2 separate regions of the Homo sapiens genome follow, and region 2 is linked to region 1. Evidence: promoter capture Hi-C in human tissues and cell types (Jung and others, 2019). All regions are on one chromosome and are shown on one strand. The core of a region is centred on a gene start or on the middle of the fragment in contact, and the rest is flanking DNA. Distances in the headings are between cores, read along the strand shown. Region 1 holds the start of ORAI2 (ORAI calcium release-activated calcium modulator 2). Region 2 overlaps LOC100630923 (LOC100289561-PRKRIP1 readthrough).

Evidence for each region. The method cuts DNA at HindIII sites, captures the fragments that hold promoters and counts their contacts. A contact is called where the count stands out against the background at its distance.
Region 2: a contact is called between a fragment that was not itself captured here and the fragment with the promoter of ORAI2 in region 1, in 1 of the 25 tissues and cell types used here (psoas muscle).

Annotation. Positions count from the first base shown.
Region 1 is chr7:102,431,140-102,437,733 of GRCh38, reverse strand. It overlaps ORAI2 (ORAI calcium release-activated calcium modulator 2), which reads right to left and starts at 4,159. Exons shown (of 4, transcript NM_001126340.3): 1 at 4,073-4,159; 2 at 1,401-1,509. RefSeq lists silencers at 3,750-4,529, 4,560-4,699, 6,098-6,392. The HindIII fragment of the contact is 14,608 bases long and covers 1-6,594 here.
Region 2 is chr7:102,376,057-102,382,650 of GRCh38, reverse strand. LOC100630923 (LOC100289561-PRKRIP1 readthrough) reads right to left here. Exons shown (of 9, transcript NR_038967.1): 4 at 6,329-6,439. It also overlaps the pseudogene LOC100289561. Among named protein-coding and RNA genes, the nearest start is that of PRKRIP1, 17 kb to the left of the region's middle. The HindIII fragment of the contact is 5,110 bases long and covers 447-5,556 here.

The DNA of each region.
Region 1 (6,594 bases), core at 2,910-5,409:
GAAGACGAAAGACTTCTTCCAACATCCAGGTGCCAGCCATGGAATAAACATTTCCAAGTAGCTGCTAGTTTCACAGATCCAACTTACATTTTATTATTTTCTAAATTTATTTATTTTTTGAGACAGAGTCTCGCTCTGTCACCCAGGCTAGAGTGAAGTGGCGCAATTTCGGCTCACTGCAACCTCCGCCTCCTGGGTTGAAGCCGTTCTCCTGCCTCAGCCTCCCGAGTAGCTGGGATTACAGGCATGTGCCACCATGCCTGGCTAATTTTTATATTTTTAGTAGAGACAGGGTTTCGCCATGTTGGCCAGCCTGGTCTTGAACTCCAGAGCTCAGGTGATCTGCCCGTCTCAGCCTCCCAAAGTGATGGGATTACAGGTGTGAGCCACCGCACCTGGCCTTCAACTTAAATTTTGATCAGTACAGTTCACCCTAAGAAAAATATTGGACTTACATAACTAAAGCCACATCCAAGCTACAAGGCAAACTTTTAGCAAGATGAAAAATGAAATCCACCAACTCACATGACCACATTTTAAGGAGAAACAGAAGGCGGAGATGCCTGGACTCACACCTGGTAAACATCTGGTTTGACTAACACGGATTAAACATCAGAAGGACAGATCTGTCAAGATTTGTGAATTTAAACCCAAATCTCCACTAAGTAGGGGATTGGCGGTCGCGTGTGTCCCAAGGAGCTGGGCTGCTCGGCCACACGCCAGGATCCAGTTCTAATTAATCTGCAGGGCGTGCTTCAAGGGCACAGGCATCTTGTGGTTTACTTGACATCAAAAAGAGTGACTTTTCCAGCCTGGCCAACATGGTGAAACCCTGTCTCCACTAAAAATACAAAAATTAGCCAGGTGTGGTGGCGGGCTCCTGTAATCCCGGCTACTCGGGAGGCTGAGGCAAGAGAATCGCTTGAACCCAGAAGGCGGAGGTTGCAGTGAGCCAAGATTGCGCCACTGCACTCCAGCCTGGGTGACAGAGCAGGATTCCGTCTCAAAAAAAGAAAAGAAAAGAAAAAAAAGAAACGAAAAGAGTAACTTCTATGTCCAGGCCCACATAGGCCCCACGGAAAGTCTATGTCAGGCTGTTACACACAGATCCGTGTTTCTAGGTCCCAGGGAGCGTGGCTGGGGTGGACGGGTGGAGTGGGGAGTGCTTAACAGGGTCAGCAGCTGAGGAAATGCCCCAAACTTAGTCCATCCATGCCAGAGTCGAGCCCCCCATAATTGAAAATGCCCCAATTTGGAAATTACGCAGGAAGGTGCTGGAGGTGGAAAACAGTGTCGCCTTTCCCTTTGTTCTCAACAAGGCTACAAAGCCACAGCCTTCCCTGGCCAACAAGACCTCTGGGAACAGTTCTGTGCTATTTCTGCCAGGGGATGCCAATTACCAGGTCATTTATACGAATGCCAACTCAGGCTCTCCATCCCATCTCCTTGCGCACATCCGCAGCCAGCAGCACCGCATCCAAGCACTTCCATCCCTGGGACGTTCCTTCCCTTGGGGAGAATTCAGAGAAACGCTGCAATCCGTAGGTTAGCTCCACATAATAGAAAATGCTGTAATTTGGAAACTGCATTTTTCCTCTCCCCCCACCCCCATAGTTAACAGAATTGAGCATGCAGGTCTGATGACCGCAGTATACAGAGACTGGAGGGGTGAGACGCTAACCTTTGCTCCCTCCGTCCTCCCTCCTCCATCACACAGGTGCTTAGCGCACTTGGTACTTAAAGATCCAAGATGAAAGAGGCCAGAATTCATGGCCTCCCAGTAGGGGAGCAAGGTAAGGGGATGTGGGTCAGGAGCAGTAGCTCACACCTGTCATCTTTGGGAGGCTGAGGTGGGCGGATCACTAGAGGTCAGGAGTTCGAGACTAGCCTGGACAACATGGTGGAAACCTGTCTCTTCTAAAAATACAAAAAGTAACTGGGCATGGTGGTGGGCGCCTGTAATCCCAGCTACTCAGGAGGCTGAGGCAGGAGAATTGCCTGATCCCAGGAGGCGGAGGTTGCAGTGAGCTGAGATCCTACCGCGGCACTCCAGCCTGGGTGACACAGTGAGACTCTGTCTTAAAAAAAAAAAAATAGCTGGGTGTGGTGGCAGAGGTTGCAGTGAGCCAAGAGCACACCACTGCACTCCAGCCTGGGCAACAGAGCGAGACTCCATCTCAAAAAAAAAAAAAAAAAAGAGGGGGGGGCAATCCTCATCCACTGAGCTAAAGGCTTCAATGGAGGGCAGGGAGCAGAGGACTGGCTGCCTCACACCAAGGCCAGGAAAAGGTGCTTGCAGGTAACACCGGGGAGGGGACAGAGCGGCCCTTTGCATGCCAAAGTGCCTCATGCCTGTAATCCCAGTGTTTTGTGAGGCCAAGGTGGGAGGATCACCTGCGGCCAGGAGCTGGAGACCAGCCTAGGCAACAGAGTAAGACGCTGTCTCTAAAAATAATTTTTTTTGACATGGGGTCCTGCTGTGTTACCAAGGCTGGAGTGCAGTGGCACAATCTCAGCTCCCTGCAAATTCTACCTCCCAGGCTCAAGCGATCCTCCCGCCTCAACCACCCGAGTAGCTGGGACTACATGTGTGTGCCACCATACCTGGCTAATTTTTGGTATTTTTGGTAGAGACAGGGTTTTGCTATGTTGGCCAGGCTGGTCTAGAACTCCTGAGCTCAAGTGATCCGCCCACCTTGGCCTCCCAAAGTGCTGAGATTATAGGCATGAACCACTGCGCCTGGCCTCTAAAAAGAATTTTAAAAAAGAGGGACCTTTCCTCAAAGACAAGATGCTGCCTGCATGGAAGGATTCCGAGAGACGGGAAGGCCACTCCAGGTGTACATGTGGGGTGGCTCTCCTTGTCCAGGAGATATGGAGGGAAGACTGGCTGCCACCTGGGGGGTGGAGGGGGCAGGGAGATGTGGGTGGAAGACACTTGGAGCCTGGGGCTGTGGAATGAGCCAGAGGGTCTGGGCAGCATGACTGGGCGTCCAGCCACAGGAGAATGGAAGAAATTGGTGAGTGGAACGGTCTGGGCACTGCTAGATCATTCTGGTTTGGGACCACAGTTCAACCCAGGGAAATGGCTGGCCGACTGGCAGGAGTGGGACGCAAGGGAGAGCCTGGTGGCCTCCAAAGGAAGGAAGGGTGAACAAGAGGGATGCCCCATCAGTAAGGGTGGGCTGGGCTCAGGTCTGAGAGTGGAGGTGAAGAGCTCAGGGCAGTGAGGGCTGAGGGTGGCTTCCTGGGAGCCGCCAGGCCTCCCATGCCCCATCGGTGAGGCCCTGCAGATGTCCCCAGAGTGGGTGGGATTGTGGAGGAAACGATGTCTGTCTGCCTGGAGCTGGGTCTTGAGACAGGTCTCCAGGTCTCGAAGGAGCAGCCCAGGAGGGGGTTCAAATCCATCCTTTATGTTCCCAATGCCAACTGTGTGTGCCAGGCCCGGTGGCCCAGGGGGAGGGACAGAGTCTGGGCCTCACACTGGATCCCAGGCAGGGGGTGGGGTGGGGCAGGATGGAGCCCTGTACTTCTGTCAGGTGGCACAGACCCTAGAGGATGCTCCGGGACTGAACCTTGTGGGGTTGCTTTTTTTTTTTTTTTTTTTTTTTTGCTTTAATGAGCAGTCCGAGAAAACAGGTCTTGTAGAATAACGCGATCCCCTCTCTAGAGATGAGCTTTTCTTCCTGGCTGGCCTACTGGACACATTTCCAGAGGGCGGTCTTGGAGTTTGACTTCCTCTAAGCATCTGGGGCACCGGCAATGGCGAGTGTCTCTCTCCAGCAGGCGCACTGGGAGGGGGCCTCCCAGGGGCGCTAGGCTGCATCCCTGTCCCTCCCCCAGGGACGCCCCGGTGTCCGGAACCGGCTGCGCCGCCGACCCTGATCCTCTGGGCGCCGCACCCCGCCAGGGATCCCGCGGGGTGGAGGTCACCAACCCCGGATGGGTAGTGACCGCGCCCGGGCAGCCTACAGTCGTCCCCTTCCCCGCCGAGCGTCCCCGGTCCAATTCCGGCCCCCCCAGCCGCAGGGACCCCGCTCCCCGCGCCAGGCCCCCGCGCCGCCACACTCACCGGAGCTGCCCTCGCCCCGCCCGGCTCGGCTCCCGCTCGGACTGCGTGGCCGCGTGGCCTGTGGCCCAGTGGCCCGGCCGGGGCGCCGAGCGCGGCCCCCTCCCTCCTTCCGCCGGTCGCGCGGGGTCCCCCGGCCCCGCCTCCACCCCGCCCCCGCGGCCGCCGCAGCCGCTGCCAAGGCAACCAGGCGCCGCCAACACGTGACCCACCCGCGGGAGAGCCGCGGCCACGTCACCCGCCGGGCCGGGAGGGGCGGGGCTGGCGGCGCCTCCTCGGAGAGTGGGGGGGTGGGGGTCCCCGCCTCACCTGGAACCACCCCGGGATCGCGCGAGGGAGAGGAGCAGGGGAGGTGGGAAGACCCCGACCCGCGCGCATCCCTCCTGCCCCAGCTCCTGTCCCCGGCCCCAGCTCTGGGAGTCAAGGCGAGGCCCCCCACCGCCCCATCGGGGGTCCGGCTACCCACAGACCACGAGCTGGGCTTTCCCTGCCCCTGGGTCCGGGCGCAAAAGGGGAGCCCCAGGCTTGGCAGGGTGAGCCTCGGGGGGTGCCCAGCATTGGACGCTGGCTGCGTAGAGGGGCGGGGAGTGGGGACAGGGCGGGCGGGTGCAGGTGGGCAGTGGAGGGGAAAGGAAGGTGGGGAGGGGAGAATCCGTCTGGCCACGCCCGAGTTTTCACAGGATTTTTTTTTTTATTTTTTTGAGACAGGGTCTGGCTCTGTCGCCCAGGCTGGACTGCAGTGGTGCGATCACGGTTCAATGCAGCCTCGAATTCCTGAGCTCGAGTGATCCTCTGCCCTCAGTCACCCAAAGTGCTGAGGCTACATGTAGGCAGGAGCCACCACACCGTGGTAGTTTTTAAAAAATTTGTTTTTGTTTGTTTTTTGAGAGGGAGTTTTGCCCTGTCACCCAGGCTGGAGTGCAGTGGTGCCATCTTGGCTCACTGCAACCCCCGACCCCGGGGTTGAAACGATTCTCCTGTCTCAGCCTCCGAGCTACAGGTGCACGCCACTAGCCTGGCTACTTTTTTGTATGTTTAGTAGAGATGGGGTTTCACCATGTTGGCCGGACTGGTCTTGAACTCCTGACCTCAGGTGATCCTGCCTGCCTCGGCCTCCCAAAGTGCTGGGATGATACATGTGAGCCACTGTGCCCAGCCAAAAAAAAAAAAAAAAATTCTTTTTTTAGAGATAGAGTCTTCCTGTATTGCCCAGACTGGTCTTAAACTCCTGGCCTCAAGCAATCCTCTCTTAGCCTCTCAAAGCACTGGGATTACAGGCATGTGCCACAATGTCCAGCTAATTTTTAAATTTTTTAAAAAAATTGAGATGGGTCTTGCTATGTTGCCTCTGCTGGTCTCGAACTCCTGGGCTCAAGTGATCCTCCCACCTCAGCCTCCCAAAGTGCTGGGCATAGAGGCATGGGCCACCTTGCTTGGCCCCTGCCCAGGGTGTTGGATGGCACCATGAAGAGCTTGCACTGAGCTAATTGGGGGTTGCCACCCAGAGTGCACTGCCACTCACAGACCCAGCGAGACCCCTGGGGTCCCAACTTCAGTGCAGCGTGCTGTCCTTCTCATGCTGTTCGCAGACAGCAGCAAAGAGTTTCTGCTGTGCCCTGGCCCCTTCCACTCCCTACTGCAGGGAGCCTCTCACCTTTAACGGTGAATTCTCTGCGGTTTTACGAGCGAGGCAGTCAAACAGGAGCATTCTTTTCAGGAAGTGCAGCACATGAATAATTCACAGACAGACAAGATGGGTTCCTATCAGCCCGGCGGTGCCAGACGGTCCCTTGGAGTCCTTCCTCCATGCCGGGTAGGCTGCTGCGTGCCCTACATAGGATTTTTCCATCTGTCACAACAGCATTGGACCGTGACACATTTATCCAAACGAAGGAAAAATTCCACTCATGTCAGCCAGCCCACATTTTATGACAATTGGAAGAGTAGATGTTACGGACGCCAGGTTAAATCCATCTACACTTCGAGTTGTCTTTTACAGGCTACTGCTGACAGCCAGAATGAAACCAGGAGGACACTTAGTCTAATAAACCAGGTTTCCCCCTCCGGGTTACTGACCTAAAAGGCAAGTTAGGCCCTAACATGGACATAAGCAAATCCCAGGGTTCCTTACTGGCCCTCCTCCTGCCACCCCCATCAATGGCTATGGGTGAGGGAACATTTGAATTTCAGGGGTAAAGTCCTCAAAAAGCAATCATGTTATGGCTTTCCAACGTGGAGTTCTTGGTAAAATGAATCTCGGTGGCTCATGCCTGTAATCCCAGCACTTTGGGAGGCTGATCACCTGAGGCCTGGAGTTCAAGACCAGCCAGGTCAACTGGTAAAACCCCATATCTACTAAAAATACAAAAATTAGCCAGGCATGGTAGCGCACGCCTGTAGTCCCAGCTACTGGGGAGGCTGAGGCAGAAGAATCGCTTGAACCTGGGAGGCGGAGGTTGCAGTGAGCCAAGATCACACCATTGCACTCCAGCCTGGGCCAGAGAGCAAGACTCTGTCTCAAAACA
Region 2 (6,594 bases), core at 1,752-4,251, 54 kb after region 1:
GACAGGGACTCAAACCATCCCTCAGAGGGTAAGTAGATGTTGCATTGTGCGGCCACTTCCTGTGTCCGTGGCAGCCTTCCCCCTCTCGTTTTCCCACATTGATGATAATATTCGTGGGACTGTGTGAATACACCAGAAGTGCTGTACTCGTTCAGCACAGTGACACCCTCCCTCCAGCTCCAGGTGTTTTTTTTTTGGTGGTCCTAGATGTTGTAGACATCAAAATAGTAGTACATCCTGTTTTTTGTTTGTTTGTTTGTTTGTATGAGATGGAATCTTGCCCTGTCGCCCAGGCTGGAGTGCAGTGGTGTGATCTTGGCTCACTGCAACCTCCGCCTTCCGGGTTCAAGCACATCCTGTTTTTAATCCATCATCCATCGTGTCTAAACCTCTCTTAAACACATTTCTGTGTTCAGCATGTACAACCCCTGGTGGGGGCTGGGAGGTGGCAGATGGGTGAGTAAAGAGTTCTTTACTTGTTGCCTGGTAAATTGTATAAACTTTTTATCTGGTGTCCCCTAGTTCTTCTACTTGGGGATTTTGTAAACAGGTCTGTGTATCCTTATTTATTACCACATATGAGGTTATTTTGTGTAGGTTATAATAATATATCTTGGTTTTTTATCTTTCCAGAAGGAAAAAAGCTAATGTCATACAGATCTGCTTTATCCCCTGGCTGTTTTAATTGGCTTTCTCTGAATCATTTCTGTTTCTGTCAGTGCTGCTGTGGTGTACCCGATTATATCAATGTTACACACTTGAATTGATATGACATGTGGTTGATGTTTCATGGGTGAAATTTAACTCTAGGTCCATATTACTCTCCCATTTATGGATGAGTGATGGATGACTTCCTGGGCCATGATTGTTTTTCTCTACAAAGAGCAGTGATCTCTCTACCCGCTAAGTGAGTAGCATTTGATTCTCTTCTTCGGAGAGAATACTAGGAAGGGTTGTCCTTCCCGTGCCTCATTTCCTCATTCTTCGTCTCCACTGCTTTCATGTGAAAGTTTTCCTTTAAGACTTTGTCCTGGCCGGGTGTGGTGGCTTACGCCTGTAATCCCAACACTTTGGGAGGCCAAGGCAGGTGGATCACCTGAGGTCAGGAGTTTGAGACCAGCCTGGCCAACATGGTGAAACACCTGTAATCCCAGCTACTCGGGAGACTGAGGCAGGAGAATCACTTGAACCTGGGAGGTGGAGGTTGCAGTGAGCCGTGATCACACCATTGCACTCCAGCCTGGGTGACAGGAGTGAAACTCTGTCTCAAAAAAAAAAAAAAGACTTTGTCCCAACTTCCTACTAACAATAAGCTCATTTTTTCTTAAATTCTGAATATGTTTTTCTCATGGAGATGGGATGCAGTGAGAGACAGAGAAACTAATTCATTAGCCTTTTATATGGAGGGAATTAGGGTGGTTATATTTAAAGAGAACGGTACTTTCTCACAGGAATACTGACTCTTTATTAGCTGATGAAGGCAATGACTTTGAAGACAGCTTGAATCACAGTGTGAAGAAGAAAGCAGCAAAACGACCACCAAAAGCAACACCGGTGAGTCAGCCAGTTTTCTTTTGTTTTTGAATCTTGTGGGGGAAGCAGCCCAGCTACTTGGGAGGCTGAGGCAGGACAATAGCATGAACCCAGGGGGCAGAGCTGGCAGTGAGCCGAGATCACGCCACTGAACTCCAGCCTGGGTGATAGAGCGACACTCCGTCTCAAAAAAAAAAAAAAAAAAAAACCTAAAAGAGGTTCAGGTGATATGGTTCATAAAAGGACAAGATTTACAAAGTGTTAAGGGACGGAAATAGGAAGAAGAGAAATTTTGAAGAGAAAAGAAGAGAAAAGGACGTTAGGATATAGGGATACAGGAAGGGGACTCAAGGACTTTTTTTTTTTAAGGGAAAAAAGTTAATAAACTTCATAATATAAAAATCAATTATTTCAGGACTAACTCAGACTCTGCCATGGAAGTGGCAGCATAAGCCTACTTGTGTGATAATGATGAGACCAAGTGTTAATGTCATTGTTACCTTTTTTTCATATTTCTGATCTTTTTATACATATTAGATGGCAAACATCCAGAGAAAGGGTCCCGAGTGGTACATCGTCATAGCCGGAAACAGTCAGAGCCACCAGCCAATGATCTTTTCAATGCTGTGAAAGCTGCCAAAAGTGACATGCAGGTAAAGCAGTGTCTCACCTCTGTTGATACCATCTCACTTTTTGTAAGGTGGTAAGGACAAGTGTCTACAAACTTGATTTGATGTGAACGTTTTAGTGAATGTAACATATCAAGAAAGATAAGATTATGGAGTGAATCCTTGGAGTGATAGAAGGGTAACCTTGAATGAGAGAGCATGTTCCTTTTTTTTTTTTGAGACAGAGTCTCTTTCTGTCACCCAGGCTGGAGTGCAGTGGCACAGTCTCGGCTCACTGCAGCCTCTGCCTCCTGGTTTCAAGCGATTCTCATGCCTCAGCCTCCCAAGTAGCTGGGATTACAGACAAGCACCACCACGCCCAGCTAATTTTTGTATTTTTAGTAGAGATGGGTTTCGCTGGTCTCCAACTCCTGACCTCAGGTGATCTGCCCGCCTCGGCCTCCCAAAGGAGGCTGGGATTACAGGCGTGCACCACTGCACCCAGCTTTGAGAGAGTGTGTTCTTTTCTTAAAGGTATCACAGGAGTGATTATGCCTTTATTGATTGATGGAGCAGATGAGGAGAGGCATTACATGACATGGGAAGGAAGCTTGCATGTGGGTGGCACCTTGTTCACCCATGTTATTTTTTTAGCTCCATCTTGACAATTATACTTTTTCCCCTGTTTCTCTTTTTTATAATTTTATTGAAGTTCTAATATCCAAAAGTGTACAAAGCTTATATGTAGTTTAAAAAATAAAAATGAAATGATTACCCAGATCTCTAGCCCCAGCTCAAGAAGTGAAACATTAATAGTGCTGTAGAGATCCTTTGTGTACCTTCTTTCTACCCTACCTCACAGTCCCCTTATTACCCATAGGTAAACACTAGGGTGAACTTTGTGTTAATCTTTCTCATCTTTCATTATAGTGTTACCACTATGAATGTGTTCTTTAATTATGTAAATGAATCCATTATTCAGGCTTCTGTGATTTAATTATTTCAGTTAAGATTGTTTGAGATTTATCCACATTAACATGTAGTTTTATAGTTTCTGGGAAAATATTTAAAATTTTCAAACATACAGAATTTTGCTAGTTATATTTTCATTATTTGATTTCTAACTTTTTTGTGTTGTATTCAGGGAATGTGGTGTTTGAAATTTATGTAGGGGCTGGGCACAGTGGCTCACACCTTTGATCCCAGCACTTGGGGAGGCTGAGGCAGGCAGATCACTTGAGGCCAGGAGTTTGAGACCAGCCTGGCCAACATGCTGAAACCCTGTCTCTACTAAAAATAAAAAAATTAGCTGCATGTGGTGGCGTTTGTCTGTAATCCCAGCCACTTGGGAGGCTGAGGCGTGAGAATTGCTTGAATCCGGGAGGCAGAGGTTGCAATGAGCTGAGATTGTGCCACGGCACTCCAGCCTGGGTAACAGAGTGAGACTCTGTCTCAAAAAAAAAAAAAAAGAAAGAAATTTATGGAGACTTAGCCTTATGGCCTAGTATTGAGTTGGTACATTCATTTTATCTTTTCTGTTTCTTTTTCCCCCTTTGCTTGATTTCCTTTGGATTTCTTGTCTTCTACAAGGACCTGAGCACATTTTAATTCCAGTTGTCTTTATAGGTTTACTAGGTTTATTGTGAGCCACTCATTTCCCTGGAGTTCTTATGTGCTGGAATCTTTGGGCTAGGTCAAACGTGGTTTTTTTTTTTTTTGAGACGGAGTCTCGCTCTGTCGCCCAGACTGGAGTGCAGTGGTGCGATCTCTGCTCACTGCAAGTCCGCCCCCCAGGTTCATGCCATTCTCCTGCCTCAGCCTCCCAAGTAGCTAGGACTACAGGTGCCCGCCACCACACTCAGCTAATTTTTTTGTATTTTTAGTAGAGATGGGGTTTCACTGTGTTCACCAGGATGGTCTTGATCTCCTGACCTCGTGATCTGCCCGCCTCGGCCTCCCAAAGTGCTGGGATTACAGGTATGAGCCACCACGCCCGGCCATGTTAGGTTCTTTTTTTAACCACAATTTAAAATTAAATGAAGGGGGCTGGGTGCAGTGCTCACGCCTGTAATCCCAGCACTTTGGGAAGCTGAGGCAGGCAGCTCACAAGGCCAGGAGCCCAACAGAGTGAACTCCTGGCCAACAGACTGAATCCCCGTCTCTACTAAAAATACAAAAATAGGCCGGGCATGATGGTGCACACCTGTAATCCCAGCTACTCGGGCGGCTGAGGCACAAGAATCACTTGAACCTGGGAGGCAGAGGTTATCATGAGCCAAGATTGCGCCAGTGCGCTCCAGCCTCAGTGACAGAGTGAGACTCTGTCTCAATAAATAAATAGGCTGGGCACAGTGGCTCAGGCCTGTAATCCCAGCACTTTGAGAGGATGAGGCAGGCGGATCACAAGGTCAGGAGTTAGAGACGAGCCTGACCAATATGGTGAAACCCCATCTCTACTAAAAATATAAAAATTAGCCAGGCATGGTGGTGTGCACCTGTAATCCCGGCTGCTTTGGGAGGGTGAGGCAGGAGAATCCCTTGAACCTGAGAGGGGGAGGCTGCACTGAGCCGAGATCATGCCATTGCACTCCAGCCTGGGTGACCAGAGTGAGACTCCATCTCAAAAAGGAAGGAAGGAAGGAAGCGAGGGAGGGGAGGGGAGGAAGAAAGGGAGGGAAAATATATATTATCTGGGCCAGTAAAATGCAGATGAAGGAAAAGGACCATGATCCTTTGAATGGAAGATGGATCCACTGTAATCCAGGTATGGGAGAATACTGAACACTAATGTCAAAAGAAACAATGTGCTGATGATCTGCAAGGCATTTCACAGAAGACAAAGAACACAAACAATGGAGAGGAGACTAACACAATCAAATACTGGGAGGTGAGGAAGGTAGACAGAATTCATGATTTTGGAATGTGCACAGTTTATCATCAGACATTCTGAGAAAGAAGGAAGTGAACTATCTCACTGGTACTGCTATGTTGTCAAGTAAAATATTCAACTAGGTTAAAAGTGTCAGACATATCAATCTGGAGGCAAACTGCAAAAATACACAAGAAAAAAGGTCTTAGAAGTTGAGATTAGAAAAACTCTTTTAAGGGATACAAAGAAAACCAAAAAAGTAGAAAACGGGTTCTAGGGGGACACTCCTGAAAAGGCAAGAAAAGGAACCAACATTCCCTTATGAAATTCACACTTCCTGAATGTCTACTATGGACAGAGCATGATGCCAGTTATGGGGAAGGGGAAATGAACACACAGACGGGTCATAAATGAGCACTGGGGAAAGAGGGGAAAGCTGAGGGAGCGCTATATCATCACATCAACTGAGCATGGACTTGGGGAAATAAGGTAAACCACAAGCTGTGACTCAATTCGCAAGCATAGGTAGAGGACGAGGTTTTGGTATCTGAATGCCTAAAGAAGTAAATAAAATCGAGGGCAGAAAATAAGTCCAAGGTATTTTTAAAGCAAGGAAGGAAAGAAAATGGAAGATTAAAAGAATGAACCTAAAAGTCTCAAGTTAATTTTTATGTCAGACTTCTGAATGCCCCAAAACAAAACAATTCTGTAAGGCCGAAAGCAGTGGCTCAGGACTGTAATCTCAGCACTTTGGAAGGCTGAGGTGGGCAGATCACTTGAGGCCAGAAGTTCAAGACCAGCATGGCCAACATGGTGAAACCCAGTCTCTATTAAAAATACAAAAATTAGCCAGGCGTGGTGACATGTGCCTGTAATCCCAGCTACTCAGGAGGCTGAGGAAGGAGAATCGCTTGAACCTGAGAGATAGTGGTTGCAGTGAGCGAGAACATACCAGTGCACACCAGCCTGGGTGATAGAACAAGACTCTGTCTCCAAAAAACAAACAAACAAACAAACAAACAAAAAACTCACAACAATTCTCTAATGGCGAGGGAGTAAATAAGTGAGCGATAATGCTGGAGAAAGAGGAAGTGACTGGGTCCCCAGTACAGGTTAGAATGAAAAAATCCCTACCAATGTAAATCAAATGTAAAATCAACAAAAGAGTTCATGTATGTGGTATGTGTGTGGGAAGGAAAGTGATATTTGGGGGTTGGGAGGTGTTACTGAGGGTACCGAGTACATATAAACAACTCTTTAGTCACTCCCAAAGGTCGGGGATGAGTGTTTTTTAACATGTGATAATCTACTAACTTACCTGGACTATGTTGACATGGAAATTCACCTTCCATTATCCACGGCTCCTCTCCCTGCTCCACTTCCTTCACCTCCACTCCATGATGATGTTTGGCTTGGTGATAATCATACCCTGTTAATGGGAAAAGAAGAAGGACTTGGGCAAGCTGCTTGGCTTCAGAATCTCCAAAGTACAAGATGTTGCCACCTCATAAGCTGCATAACAGAAGTGCTCCATTTTTTACCTTATCAAAGTTAGAACCTTTCAATGAAGAATAATATAAACGC